Regions from separate parts of the Homo sapiens genome. Here region 1 is linked to region 2. The links are contacts of gene promoters, found by promoter capture Hi-C in human tissues and cell types (Jung and others, 2019). All regions are on one chromosome and are shown on one strand. The core of a region is centred on a gene start or on the middle of the fragment in contact, and the rest is flanking DNA. Distances in the headings are between cores, read along the strand shown. Region 1 has its middle 14 kb from the start of PER2. Region 2 holds the start of UBE2F-SCLY (UBE2F-SCLY readthrough (NMD candidate)).

Evidence for each region. Contacts are between HindIII fragments. The study calls those that stand out against the background at their distance.
Region 1: a contact is called between a fragment that was not itself captured here and the fragment with the promoter of UBE2F-SCLY in region 2, in 1 of the 25 tissues and cell types used here (hippocampus).

Annotation. Positions count from the first base shown.
Region 1 is chr2:238,299,553-238,305,099 of GRCh38, reverse strand. It overlaps a transcript of PER2 not described here. Among named protein-coding and RNA genes, the nearest start is that of PER2, 14 kb to the right of the region's middle. RefSeq lists a silencer at 5,345-5,545. The HindIII fragment of the contact is 7,342 bases long and covers 1-5,547 here.
Region 2 is chr2:237,962,700-237,969,029 of GRCh38, reverse strand. UBE2F-SCLY (UBE2F-SCLY readthrough (NMD candidate)) reads right to left here and starts at 2,085. Exons shown (of 19, transcript NR_037904.1): 1 at 1,898-2,085. It overlaps UBE2F (ubiquitin conjugating enzyme E2 F (putative)), which reads right to left and starts at 2,016. Exons shown (of 10, transcript NM_080678.3): 1 at 1,898-2,016. RefSeq lists a silencer at 1,793-1,972 and cis regulatory regions at 3,489-4,152, 4,479-4,882. The HindIII fragment of the contact is 7,997 bases long and covers 1-6,330 here.

The sequences.
Region 1 (5,547 bases), core at 2,000-4,499, 330 kb before region 2:
ATTATATTGCCCTAAAGGTGAGGCAGTGATTCATTTTGACTGACCCAAAGTGTGGATTTGGATATCCCAAGTGTGGATTTGTCTTTCCTGCCCTTACGAACACTATCTGGAGGTTTATAAAATGTTTGATCGATGGATATAGAATACCACATAACATTGCTTTGGACCAAAAAGACTCACTTTACAGCAAAGGATCTATGGTGTTGGGTACATGACCGTGGGCTCCACTGGGCCCATTCCTTACCATGCCGTTCAGATGCTGCCAATCTGGGTGAGTGATGGAGTGGTCCTCTTGTTAGCTCTGCTGAGGAGAAAATACCCTTTGAGGATGGGATTCCATCCTTTAAGACACAAAATATACCCTAAATCAGTGACCATCATAAATTGCTGTCTCCAGCTGATGAAAGGCATGGGTCTGGGAACCCAGGAGCAGAAGCAGGAACAGCCCCCAACCATGACCTCCAGGGATCCAGTTGGTGAATTTGAACTTCTCGTCCCCTCCATGTTGTGCTTTGCAGGTCTAGAGGCCTGTTCTCTAGAGGGGGAACACTGCCACCAGGGGATCCAGTGGACAATAAGCGATGGCTGTCACTGGTCACTCAGGCTCTGTGCCAAAAGACGAGCAAGCAAGGAAAGGAGTCGGTGTCCCAGCAGGGGTGACTGGCTCTGATCCTCAAGAGCAGGAAGGGCTGCTGGAACCGGGGTGGAGGAGAATCACCCTGGCACACAGCTGGCTTCTGGGGCATCACTTGGCACGCTCCTGCCCAGTTTTGGTGGGAAATGGACAAGCACAGCAGTTGCAGCCTGAAGAGCGTGTAGTGGCTGGGATGAGGGTTTGTGTCCTCCTGCCAGGTGGGTGCCCAAGCGCAGCAGAGGTGCTAGCAGAGGAAGTGGGGAATCCAGACTGAGCAGTAGATGACAAAAATCAGCTATGGTCATCCCACTAGCCTTCCTCCTACCTAACCCAGCAAAGAGACAAACCAGAGTCAGTCCTGGGAGGGGACGCTTCAGATGGGGTCCTGGAAATTTTCCAGGAAGAAAGGACGGGGGAGTTCACTGGAGAGCCATGGCCGAGCTTCCTTCCCACCTGCTAAGACTTCACCACTTCTCTAAAACACAAACCCGGCTCAACTGGTCGCCTATACAAACCTAACAAAGGCTTCGTCGGCTGCAAAAATATTGTTGCTGAAAATGGGTCAGTCTTTTGATGCCAGTGAAAGACGCTGGTCCCTGCTGATAGCACACACACACACACACACACACACACACACACACACCCCCCACACTGGGCCATGCAGCTGTTGGTACAGAGCTGCCAGGGCTAGAAACGGCTTTTCTGGGTGTCATAGGCCTTGGCCTCCCCTCCAATGCCCTGGAGGGGCAATTCCCAGTAGGAGAAGCTCCGCCCACAGGTCTGCAGGGAGCCCTCCTCAGATGAGGCAGCAAACGCCACTGCACTCTGTTGGCCGACATAAGATGTCCTAAAGGAAAGTCATCTCTGGAGTTAGATAAATATGGCCTGAAACCTTTATGTCCTGAATATTGGGGAGAGGGAGGAGAAATGGGGAGAAAAGAGTAAAAACAACCATGAGAAGCCTTGGACAGGATCAGGTGAAGTGCATCCTTGGGAGAAGGGGGAAATGATTCTTACTTTGAGTGAGTTCCGAACTGCCTTGGGGAGAAGCCCTAAACCTGTAGCCCAAGATGACAAGAACTTAATTCCTAGAAATAAAAAAGCCTCCACTATCCCTGTCATGGGATGCCATCAAAAGTTGCCTGGGAGGGACAGTTGTGTGATGAGTTTTGAGTTTTCGAGAACTCAGGAGTCCTGAGCGGGCGCATGGAGACGACAAAGAAGAATGGGAGCTGGAAAACCGGAGTGGGAGGCACCATGAGACCCAAGTCGCTGGTCTCAGGTGCTAGCAGGAAGTGAATGCTGGGGACGCAGGAAGTGAACGCTGGGGACAGGGGACGTCGTTTCTCATCCCATGAGGGCCAGGACTCTAATGAGTCCAGCACAGATGGACGTCCTGGTGGCAGGACTCAGTGTCTGCACCGGGTGACACACAGGGCCCAGCCTCATCTTCATCAATAGGAAAACATGAGCTCTGGTAGGGCAGCCCCACATTCAAACCTGGGCGCCTCTGGGCATCAGAGGAGGAAGGGCCCAAACCACCTGAACAAGTGCTTGCCCCAAAGGGCACAGTGACCTGGCTGGGGGCGACATCCAGAGTCCTGAGCAGGAGCAGGGACCCCTCCACCCCTCCACACACTGCCCCAACGGTTCTGGGAAGACCCTCACCGCCACATCTCAGAGATACATGGCCTTTAAGCAGACACTCCTAGAAAGTTGTTGTGACCGGGTGCAGTGGCTCACGCCTGTAATCCCAGCACTTTGGGAGGCCGAGGTGGGCAGGTCAAGAGATCAAGACCATCCTGGCCAACATAGTGAAACCCCGTCTCTACTAAAACTACAAAAATTAGCTGGATGTGCTGGCACACACCTGTAGTCCCAGCTATTTGAGAGGCTGAGGCAGGAGAATCACTTGAACCCGGGAGGTGGAGGTTGCAGTGAGCTGAGATCATGCCACTGCACTCCAACCTGGCAGCAGAGCAAGACTCCATCTCAAAAAAAAAAAAAAAAAGTTGTTGTTGTTATTGTTTTTAATCCAAGTGAGAAAGAACACGGGAGTCCACCTGAGCAAAGCAGGAAGACCATGTGGAGAGCTGAGAAAACAAGCAAGGAAGACACATTCCTCCTTCCACCCCAATGGAAATAGACACTTTTACATTTCCCCTTCTGGGGCTTTCCATTGGCACATTCTTTCCTATGGCTGTCAGAATAGGATATTGGCCGAGAAAAGCACATGTTTTGCTTTGTCTTTTAGCAACATTGCCACCTCTGCCTTCTTTTGCTTCACAGATATGCCCATGCCCATTATTTTATGTTTTACTTTTCTGTAGCATTTTTGTGCCGATTTGACTGAAAAGCCCTCAAATATTGAATATCTTCAATCCCATCTGAGTGCTCACAGCTCCTATGTTAGCTATTTGTTGCCCTCACAGTCATTCCTGGTCTGTATCTGTTGAATTGCTTTCTGTGGTTTATTTGTTTTCATCATCTGAATTTTGCTCTATAGACTACTTTATTTGTTTATAATCTCTACAGAGGTTTGGATGATAAACATAAGCTTGGTAAACCTCCAGCAACAGTTGTTCAAAATAGCATGAAACTCATATCTAATTACTGAAGACAAAGATTGGAAATGAATAGAAGTCAAATAAAAATAACTTCACAATACAAAAAATTTAATGCTTTTGCTTTTTACTATGCAGGTTCTCCATCTCTATTAACAAAGCAAGCCATTTTAAGCCAAATATCCTGCTCAAAATAGGTTTCTTATTTTATATTTAATAGTCTATAGCATTACTATATTTATGCTTTCTAATTATCAAATGCTTATAATAAAGTATATTACATATAATTTATAATTTATGTAAATTATTGTAAATGCTTATTATAGAATATGAAGGATACTGAAATATATAAAGAGGAAAACTAATGTCACCCATATTCTACCACCCAGAGGAAAGCACTATGAAAATTTGGGCATTCCTTCAGGTTTTTCTTCCAGATATACACTGACATGAAGGCACACCCCTAAAAACCTATCTGTTAATTCATACACCTCCTCTATAAGGTAAGTTCATTTTTTTTTAAGACAGAGTTTCACTGTTATTGCCCAAGCTGCAGTGCAATGGCGCGACCTTGGCTCACTGCAACCTCCGCCTCCCGAGTTCAAGTGATTCTCCTGCCTCAGCCTCCCAAGTAGCTGGGATTACAGGTGTGCACCACCACGCCCGGCTAATTTTTTGTATTTTTAGTAGACATGGTGTTTCACCATGTTAGCCAGGCTATTCTCGAACTCCTGACCCCAGGTGACCCGCCCACCTCAGCCTCTGAAAGTGCTGGGATTACAGGCGTGAGCCACCGTGCCTGGCTGGTAAGTTCATATTTTTCAAACCAAATTGCAAATCTTGGTTTCTCAGGCCAACATGAGGCACAAAGATCAGCAGGGTCTCATGCCCACCAAGTCCATGGCTGACAACGCTCACCCTTCCTGCATCCAGGAAACAATTGGGAACACTGCAAACTCTTCCCAGATTTCCTGGGACCTCCTCTTGGCCTTTGACCTCAAGAGTTGGAATAAGTTGGGGACTAAAATGCTGAGGTCAGCCCGGACTTCTGGCTCTCCTCACTCAGACAGAACCTGCATCTTCCACTGGAACCCTAATGATTTACATCAATATGTGGGAGAGCTACGCTGCCCTACCCAGGCCCTCACTCAGCAGACAACAGCCTCCTTTGTATTGATGGTAGATTTTAAGGCCACGAAGAGGAGGAGTGGCTTAACACAGAAAGGCCAGTCCCTACCACAAACAATGTCTCAATGGCAATGATTACAAATCCAAAATTATCATTTTTGCGGCTGGCTTCCAACATGAACTGACTTATAGCAAAAGGAGTTTATAAGAAGCCTTAATAACCTTGAGAAATATCTTACAATGGACACTTTATTGAGATTTGGTAAGAACAGCCCCTTTTAAAATCCTCTAACAAAGAGTTTAGAAAAATAGTCTTCTAGATGTCGAACTTTGGGAGCTCCATTTCTCCTTGTAACTGGGCAGATCAAAACTCTATTTTCTAAGGAATCGCTTAGGTTGGCCACGTTGGCCTGAACCCAGGGCAAGCAGGGCAGGCTTCTTCCCTCCATGCATGTGGCCCTACATGCATCACCACTTTCACTGGGGGTCATGGTGGGAGCTTGAAATTGGCCATGTGGGCGTATCTGTGTCACAGAAATAGATAAATGCTACATATTTTTTCTTTCTTTTTTTTTATTTTTCCAGAGAGCCAACTGTTACACATTAACTAGCACACCACTGGAGTCAGCCCAACAAATGATTGGAATCAGTTCCTGGTGTCCTTGCCAAAGCATCGAGTTTTAAATCACAGATGACTGCCCCTGTGCCAACGAATTCTTCTCCAGCCACCCATCTAGCGTTATGCTCCTTCGCCACCACACTGCGAAGAACCAGCGTCACCTGTGTTCCTTCAGCTCCTGCTGGCACACATTAGCTTTGCAATTCCTTTGGAGAACAGGACAGTTCTGACCAGAGCTGAGCATATGCCTCTCTGCTCTAGCTACGGTGAAGCCTGCCCCTGGATGTTGGCATCAAGGAGCAGTGGTGAGGGCAGGTCTTGAGAACAAACACCTTGCAGGACACCTACCACAGGTAAGGTATTCCGTAAGAACAACCTGTTCTCCGGCAAGGAGGAAGTATTTGCTTCTGTTGGCTTGGAGGCTTCTGAGAATTTGGGGGTTTGAGATTCTCAGCTTATCTACTCAATTGTCCATAGCCATGGTCTCAGGACCATTCACTATCTGGCTCCTGACTGATGCAGCAGGCCTGTCAAGGCTGTGACTTTAGTCTCGTTTGTAGCCTTCAACCCTTATCAAATTTGAGGTCTTCTTTTCTTTTTTT
Region 2 (6,330 bases), core at 836-3,335:
ACTTTAAGAATAAACCCAAGGCCTAATTTGGGAATGTTGCCATAGCTGTAAAATTAAATTTAAACCAAAGGATTCTATCAAAAAGTAAGTCTTCAAACTGTCAAGAGGCTAGCTGAATACCTGCAGTTGCTTCAGAATTCTTTTCCTTCTTCAATATGCTTCAACTCTTGAAGATCTGGTTTAAAACAAAACTTCCTCTTTCCTGCAAATTACGCTCTAAGGCAGCATTTCGGTAACAGATCAGCTGTTCTGAACAGCATTCTCAGTTTCTAAATTCCACAAGTTGTAATTGGCCCAGTTAGGTTCCTCCTCTGGGTGGGACCTGCTTTCAGACAGCCCGGAGAAGAGCATCTGGTGTGCAACTTACTAGTGCCATCAAGTGATATTTACTCAGCATCCCTGCAAGCAATGGCAAAACCAGGCCATGTCACTTGTGCAGGGACACCAGGGGCCAGTCAGCTCAAGGTGAGGGGGCTACTTATTTACAATTCCTTCCGAATGGAGACGTCTCAATCCAAGCATAAAGGATGGGACTGCGGGTCACTAGGGGACACTCAACTTCCCCAGCCAAAGGGGCCCCGATCAGGGCACAACAAAGTCCACATCCCACTCTTCTACAGAATGCCAGTGCCCAGGAACCTCCTGCTCGGCACAGGAGTACGCTGGTTGACCGACCATCTTTGGAGCCCAGCCCCTTTTACGTTCAGCAGTAAACCTGCCCCTTCCTGCACTGCCTACTACCTGAAAGGCAGGTATGTCCAGGTGGGGGGTCCTCAAGCCCCACAGCACTAAGCTTGGTGTGATTCTGTCTCTCAATCTCTCTCTCTCTCCCACCTCTATGCTCCCCCTTGCCTTCATCTCACTCCTCAGCCAGGATTCCTCTGCACCAGGCAGGCCAGTTTCCTCTTTGTTCCTTCACAACACCCTGTTCATTTCCAGAAGCTTCTATTCAGTCTGATACCCAGGTCTAGAATGCCCTCCTTCCCTTCACAAACGAATCCTACCCCTTCCTTAAGGGGAAGATTCCTACCTACATCCCAACATCTCCTCCTCCAAGAAGCTTTCTCTGGCTATTCCAACCCATCCTGCCCCCACTTCCAGGCGGTCGGGAATGCAGAGTGGGGGGACCCAATTCTCTCCTGTGACAGATGAGGAAACTGAGCCCAGGGAGGGGAAGGCCACACCCAAGATGACACACCAGCAGAACTAGGTCTGGAACCAAGACTCTGCTGCACTAATTGTTCCAAGATGCCCTTCCTTCCTCGTCTCCTTTGCTGTGGTAAAAATTTTCCAAACTAGCCTGGCCGCCCCCAGTTGTAGGTAAGCGTCCATACTTACTCTTCCCGCTGCAGGTACGAGGACCGGGCGCGAGTTGTCACTCCCCTCACCTCCCCCGCTCCTCACGGCCTAGCGCGACTCCTGCCCCGATCGGGAGTCCAGTCCCGGTTTCTGCGGCCACGTCGGGCCGGTGACCTTGGCCAGGCGCTGGACGCCCCGCTTCCTCCGTACAAGGCAGGCAGCCGATCCCGCGAGTGGGGCGTGAGCGCGGCCAGGTCTGTGCCACGCTCGGCCCAGGGCCTGGTTCACACCAGGTGCTCGGCGCGGGCCGTCCCCCGCCGCCGCCGCCGCGGTCACTCACTGCCGGGCGAGGCCAGCGCCCCGGCCGCCGACGCCGCCTCCGACCCCCGGCTCGCGGCCCGCGGCCCGCGGCCCCTTCCCATTCACGCCGCTCGGCCTCGCGTCCGGGTGCCCGCGCCCGCCAGGCCCCCGGCGTGAGGAACCCGGCGGGCCCGAGGCGGCCCCGCCACCGCCCGCGCCCTCCGCCCGGCCCGCAGGCCAGCCCGTGCACCGGCGGCCGCACCTCGCCCCGCCGCAGAGCCGCACGGTCGCTCCTCACCTGGGCTCCCCGAGACAGGCGAGGCGGGCCCGGCGCCCAACACCATGCCCGGTCCGGGCGGCTGCTGCGAGACGCGGCCCCTCACAGCCGCACCGGCTCCCGGCGGCGGGACCGGAAGTGGCGGGGCGGGGACTCGGCCGCTCTCGCCCGCGGCAGCCGAGACAGCAGCGGGCGCTTTAAAAAAAAAATTCAAAGTCGCGAAAAACTTTATTTGGAACCAGACACGCGAACAGCGGCGTGCGCCGATCGGGACTGGGCTGGGCGACGGGCCTCTCGGACCTCGCTCATTGGCAGAGGGCGCGGCCAGGGGGCGGGCACGGATTTCGCAACCGCCGCTGATTGGCGAGTAGCGTTAGGGGCGGGGATTCCGAGTTGGCTCTGGAGCCCGAGCGCCGGAGGGCTGGGGGTTTTGCACCTGGTTCCAACACGGGTTCACTTCGTGGTCTGCAGGGTTTAGGGGCACGGAGGAGCCCGGGCTATCCTTCCCTGAAGGAGCGGCCTCCGTGGCTGGAGCTCCCGCTGTCCAGCGCCGCACCTGGAGTGCAAAGGACTGGACAGGCCCCCGCAGCCTGCAGTGCAGGCGGTGAGGGAGACCGGGCGGTCAGACACGCAAGCCACGACCAACCCCAAACCGTGTGCTGCGCCCACAGGCCCCACTGTTCTTGTCATGTCCCTTTTATTCCTTCTTTTCTCTCTTAAATGTGTTTAAAGTACCTTAAAAATCCATTTCAACTTGTCCTCTTTTGGGCGCCCAGATTCATCCCGCGCCCATTAGCGTCCTGTGTGATTGACGAGGGGCCGTCCTGGGCGTCAGGCAGGCCCCTGGAGGAGTGGGCCATTAGAAAGATGAGGTTCAGCATGGAAACGGTCAGAAAGAGACAAGGAGTTAGACTTTCATTTCGAAAAACCCCACTGAGAGGTTTCTAACAGTGGAGTGACTATCAGGTTTTCTTCCTAAAGGAGGCTGGCGGGCCCGGTGGCTCACGCCTGTAATCCTAGCACTTTGGGAGGCCAAAGTGGGAGGATCCCATGAGCCCAAGAGTTTAAGACCAGCCTCCTGATGGTGGCAAGACCCCATCGCTACAAAAAAAGAAAAAAAAAATTAGCCGCGTGGTGGCGCGCGCCTGTAGTCCCAGCTACTCAGGAGGCTGGGATGGGAGGATCACCTGAGCCCAGGAGGTTGAGGCTGCAGTGAGCCGTGATCGCACCACTGCACTCCAGCTTGGGTGACAGGGCAGACCCTGTCCCCATAATAATAATAAAGGCTTTGGCTCTAAGTGAGTCGGTGGGAATGGAGTCAGGAAAACTGGTCAAGAACACAACTCAGCCGGGCGCAGTGGCTCAGGCCTGTAATCCCAGCACTTTGGGAGGCCGAGGCAGACAGATCACCTGAGGTCAGGAGTTCAAGACCAGCCTGGCCAACATGGCAAAACCCCATCTCTACTAAAAATACAAAAAAGCCGGGCGTGGTGGTGCGCCCTTGTAATCCCAGCTATTTGGAACGCTGAGGCAGGAGAATTGCTTGAACCCAGGAGGCGGAGGTTGCAGTGAGCTGACACTGCACTCCAGTCTGGGTGACACAGCAAGACTGTTTCCAGAAAAAAAAGAAAAAAGAAAGAACACAACTTGTGTTATTTCTTGTGTTTGGGACCATGTCTCTCCCTTTTTTGCCCGGCTAACTCTCAAGTTTTCCTAAGCTAAGACACCAACTTCTGATAGGCCTCAAAGCCTGGGGGTGGGGTGGGGCAGTGCAGGTGCCCTCTGTGTCTTCCTTGGAGCCCTGCACTTCCCTCTTCCTTATTGTCATGGCCTGTTTCCCTGACTAAGCTCAGCTCCTCAGCCCTCCTCTTCCTTCTTCCTCCAGCGTCACCTCCTGCCACCCCCTTTCCCATCCTGGAACATGCAGGTGATTAAAACACATCTGCTGGATAGAGATTGCATGCGCTGGCGGCATGAGTCCTGGTGAGAGGAGATAAGGGCTTGAAGATTGCAGTGTGTGAAGGTGCAGCCGGAATGGCGTGAGCACTTGTCTTACTCATAAGCGTCACTGTCTGCAGAATGGATTGCACCACACATTGGCCCACGTAGGCCCAAATTCCACCGCTGTGGATGAATGAAGTCATTTCTAGCTCCATTTCATGAGGCTGCCTAATTCTTTCACTAAGACTTATTTAGGACTTCCTAGTTTATTAACTCAATTAATCCAAACAATAACCCCATGAAACAGGTATTATCCCCATTTTATAGATGAGGAAACTGACACAGAAGTTAAGTAGTCTGTTGGCAAAAAAGGTCAAACTGTAAAATATTTGAAGAGATTTTATTCAGAGCCAAATATGAGTGACGAAGGCCTGAGTCACAGCCTCAAGAGGTCCTGAGAACATGTGCCAAGGTGGTTGGATTACAGCTCGATTTTTATAAATTTTAGGGGTGTCAGAGGCGTTTGAACCAGAGCAACTCCATCTTGAGGCTAAGACCTACTGGGCTACATTCCCAGGAGGTTAGGCATTCTAAGTCACAGGATGACATAGAAGGTTGGCACAGGTACAGGTCACAAAGAGCTTGCCGTTAAAAGGATGCCATTAAGAAGCCGGCCAAAACCAAGATAGCGACGAAAGTGTTCTCTGTTCATCCTCACTGTTCATTACGCACTAGTTATAATGTATCTGTTGCTAAAAGACACTCTCACCAGTGCCATGACAGTTTACAAATGTCATGGCAAAGACAGCAAGTTATCCTATGTGATCTAAAAATGGGAGGACCCCTCAGTTCCAGGAATTGCCCAGCCTTTTCCTGGAAAACTCACGAATAATCAACCCCTTGTTTAGCATATAATCAGGAAATGACCATAAAAGTGGCCAACCAGCAGCCCTTGGGGCTGCTCTGCCTACGTAGTAGCCATTCTTTTATTTCCTTACTTCTCTAATATACTTGCTTCACTTTACTCTAATGGATTCCTCTTGAATTCTTTCTTGTTTGAGATCCAATAACCCTCTCTTGGGGTCTGGATCAGGACCCCTTTTTGGTAACAGGGGGACAGAAGTTACAGGCAGACACCAATCAATACATGTACATTAGTTCAGTCTGGAAAGGCAGGATAACTGGAAGCAGGGAAGGGTAGGCAGGAGCTTCTGGATCATAGGTAGATTCAAAGATTTTCTGATTGGCAATTTGGTTGAAATAGTTATTGTCTAACGAACTGGAATGAATAGAAAGGAGTGTCTGGGATAAGATAAGGTGTTGTATAGACAAATGTTCTTATGTAGATGAAGCCTCCTGGTAGCAGGCTTCAGAGAAATAGATGGTAAGTATTTCTTATCAGACCTAAAAAGATGCCAGACTCTTGGTTAATCTCTCCTGGATCAGAAAAAGATCTGGAAAGGGAAATCTACAGAACGTAGATTTTCCCCACAAGAGACAGCTTTGCAAGGCCATTTCAAAATATGTCAAAGAAGGCTGGGCACGGTGGCTCATGCCTGTAATCTCAGCACTTTGGGATCACGAGGTCAGGAGTTCGAGACCAGCCTCACCAACATGGTGAAACCCCATCTCTACTAAAATACAAAAATTAGCCAGGTGTGGTGGCAGGCGCCTGTAATCTCAGCTACTCAGTAGGCTGAGGCAGGAGAATCACTTGAACCCGGGAGGCTGAGGTTGCAGTGAACCAAGATTGCTCCATTGCAATCCAGCCTGGGTGACAGAGCAAGACTCTGTCACAAAAAAAAAAAAAAAAAAACTCAAAGAAATATATTTTGGGGTGAAATATTTCTCTTTCTTTCAGGGCCCACCGTCATGTGATGCTATACTAGAGTCAGTTGGAATTTGGCATCTTATTAGTACAAACAGCCTGTTTTGTCAGTCTTATGATCTCTGTTTTAATGTTAATGCTGGTGAGCTGTGCTTGAATGCCAAAGTGAGGAGGGTATAATGCAGCATGTCTGACCCCTCCTTCCCATCATGGCCTGAACTAATTTTTTAGGTTTCTTCAGAATCCCCTTGTTCAAGAGGAGGGGTCCATTCTGTCGATTAGGGGGCTTAGAATTTTATTTTTGGTTTACATGTCCAACATGGCTGTGAGGAATAGAGAAGTTCTTCAAAGTTTCTTAAAACCATAAAGAGCTTGTCATTTCTTTGCTTTATGCATATCTATATATGTTCCAGTGCAGCTGCTCTGACTTGACCTGGCATGCCTGGACAGGGTTAAGGCAGCCCGGGACCATAGTGCCTGCCATAGCTTATTTGGAAACCCTCCTGACCCTCTCATGACTAGCTTCCTCTTTCCTTTGTCCTCTTTCCTCTTTACCTATTTAGAAAAGTTTCAAGCTGTTAGCCAATCAGGTCAAGCTTAGAATGTGAGGTCCCATTCTGGCCAATGGAAATGGGACACAGCCATAGGACGATTGCATCAGGTTACAAAGATTATAAATGTCCCC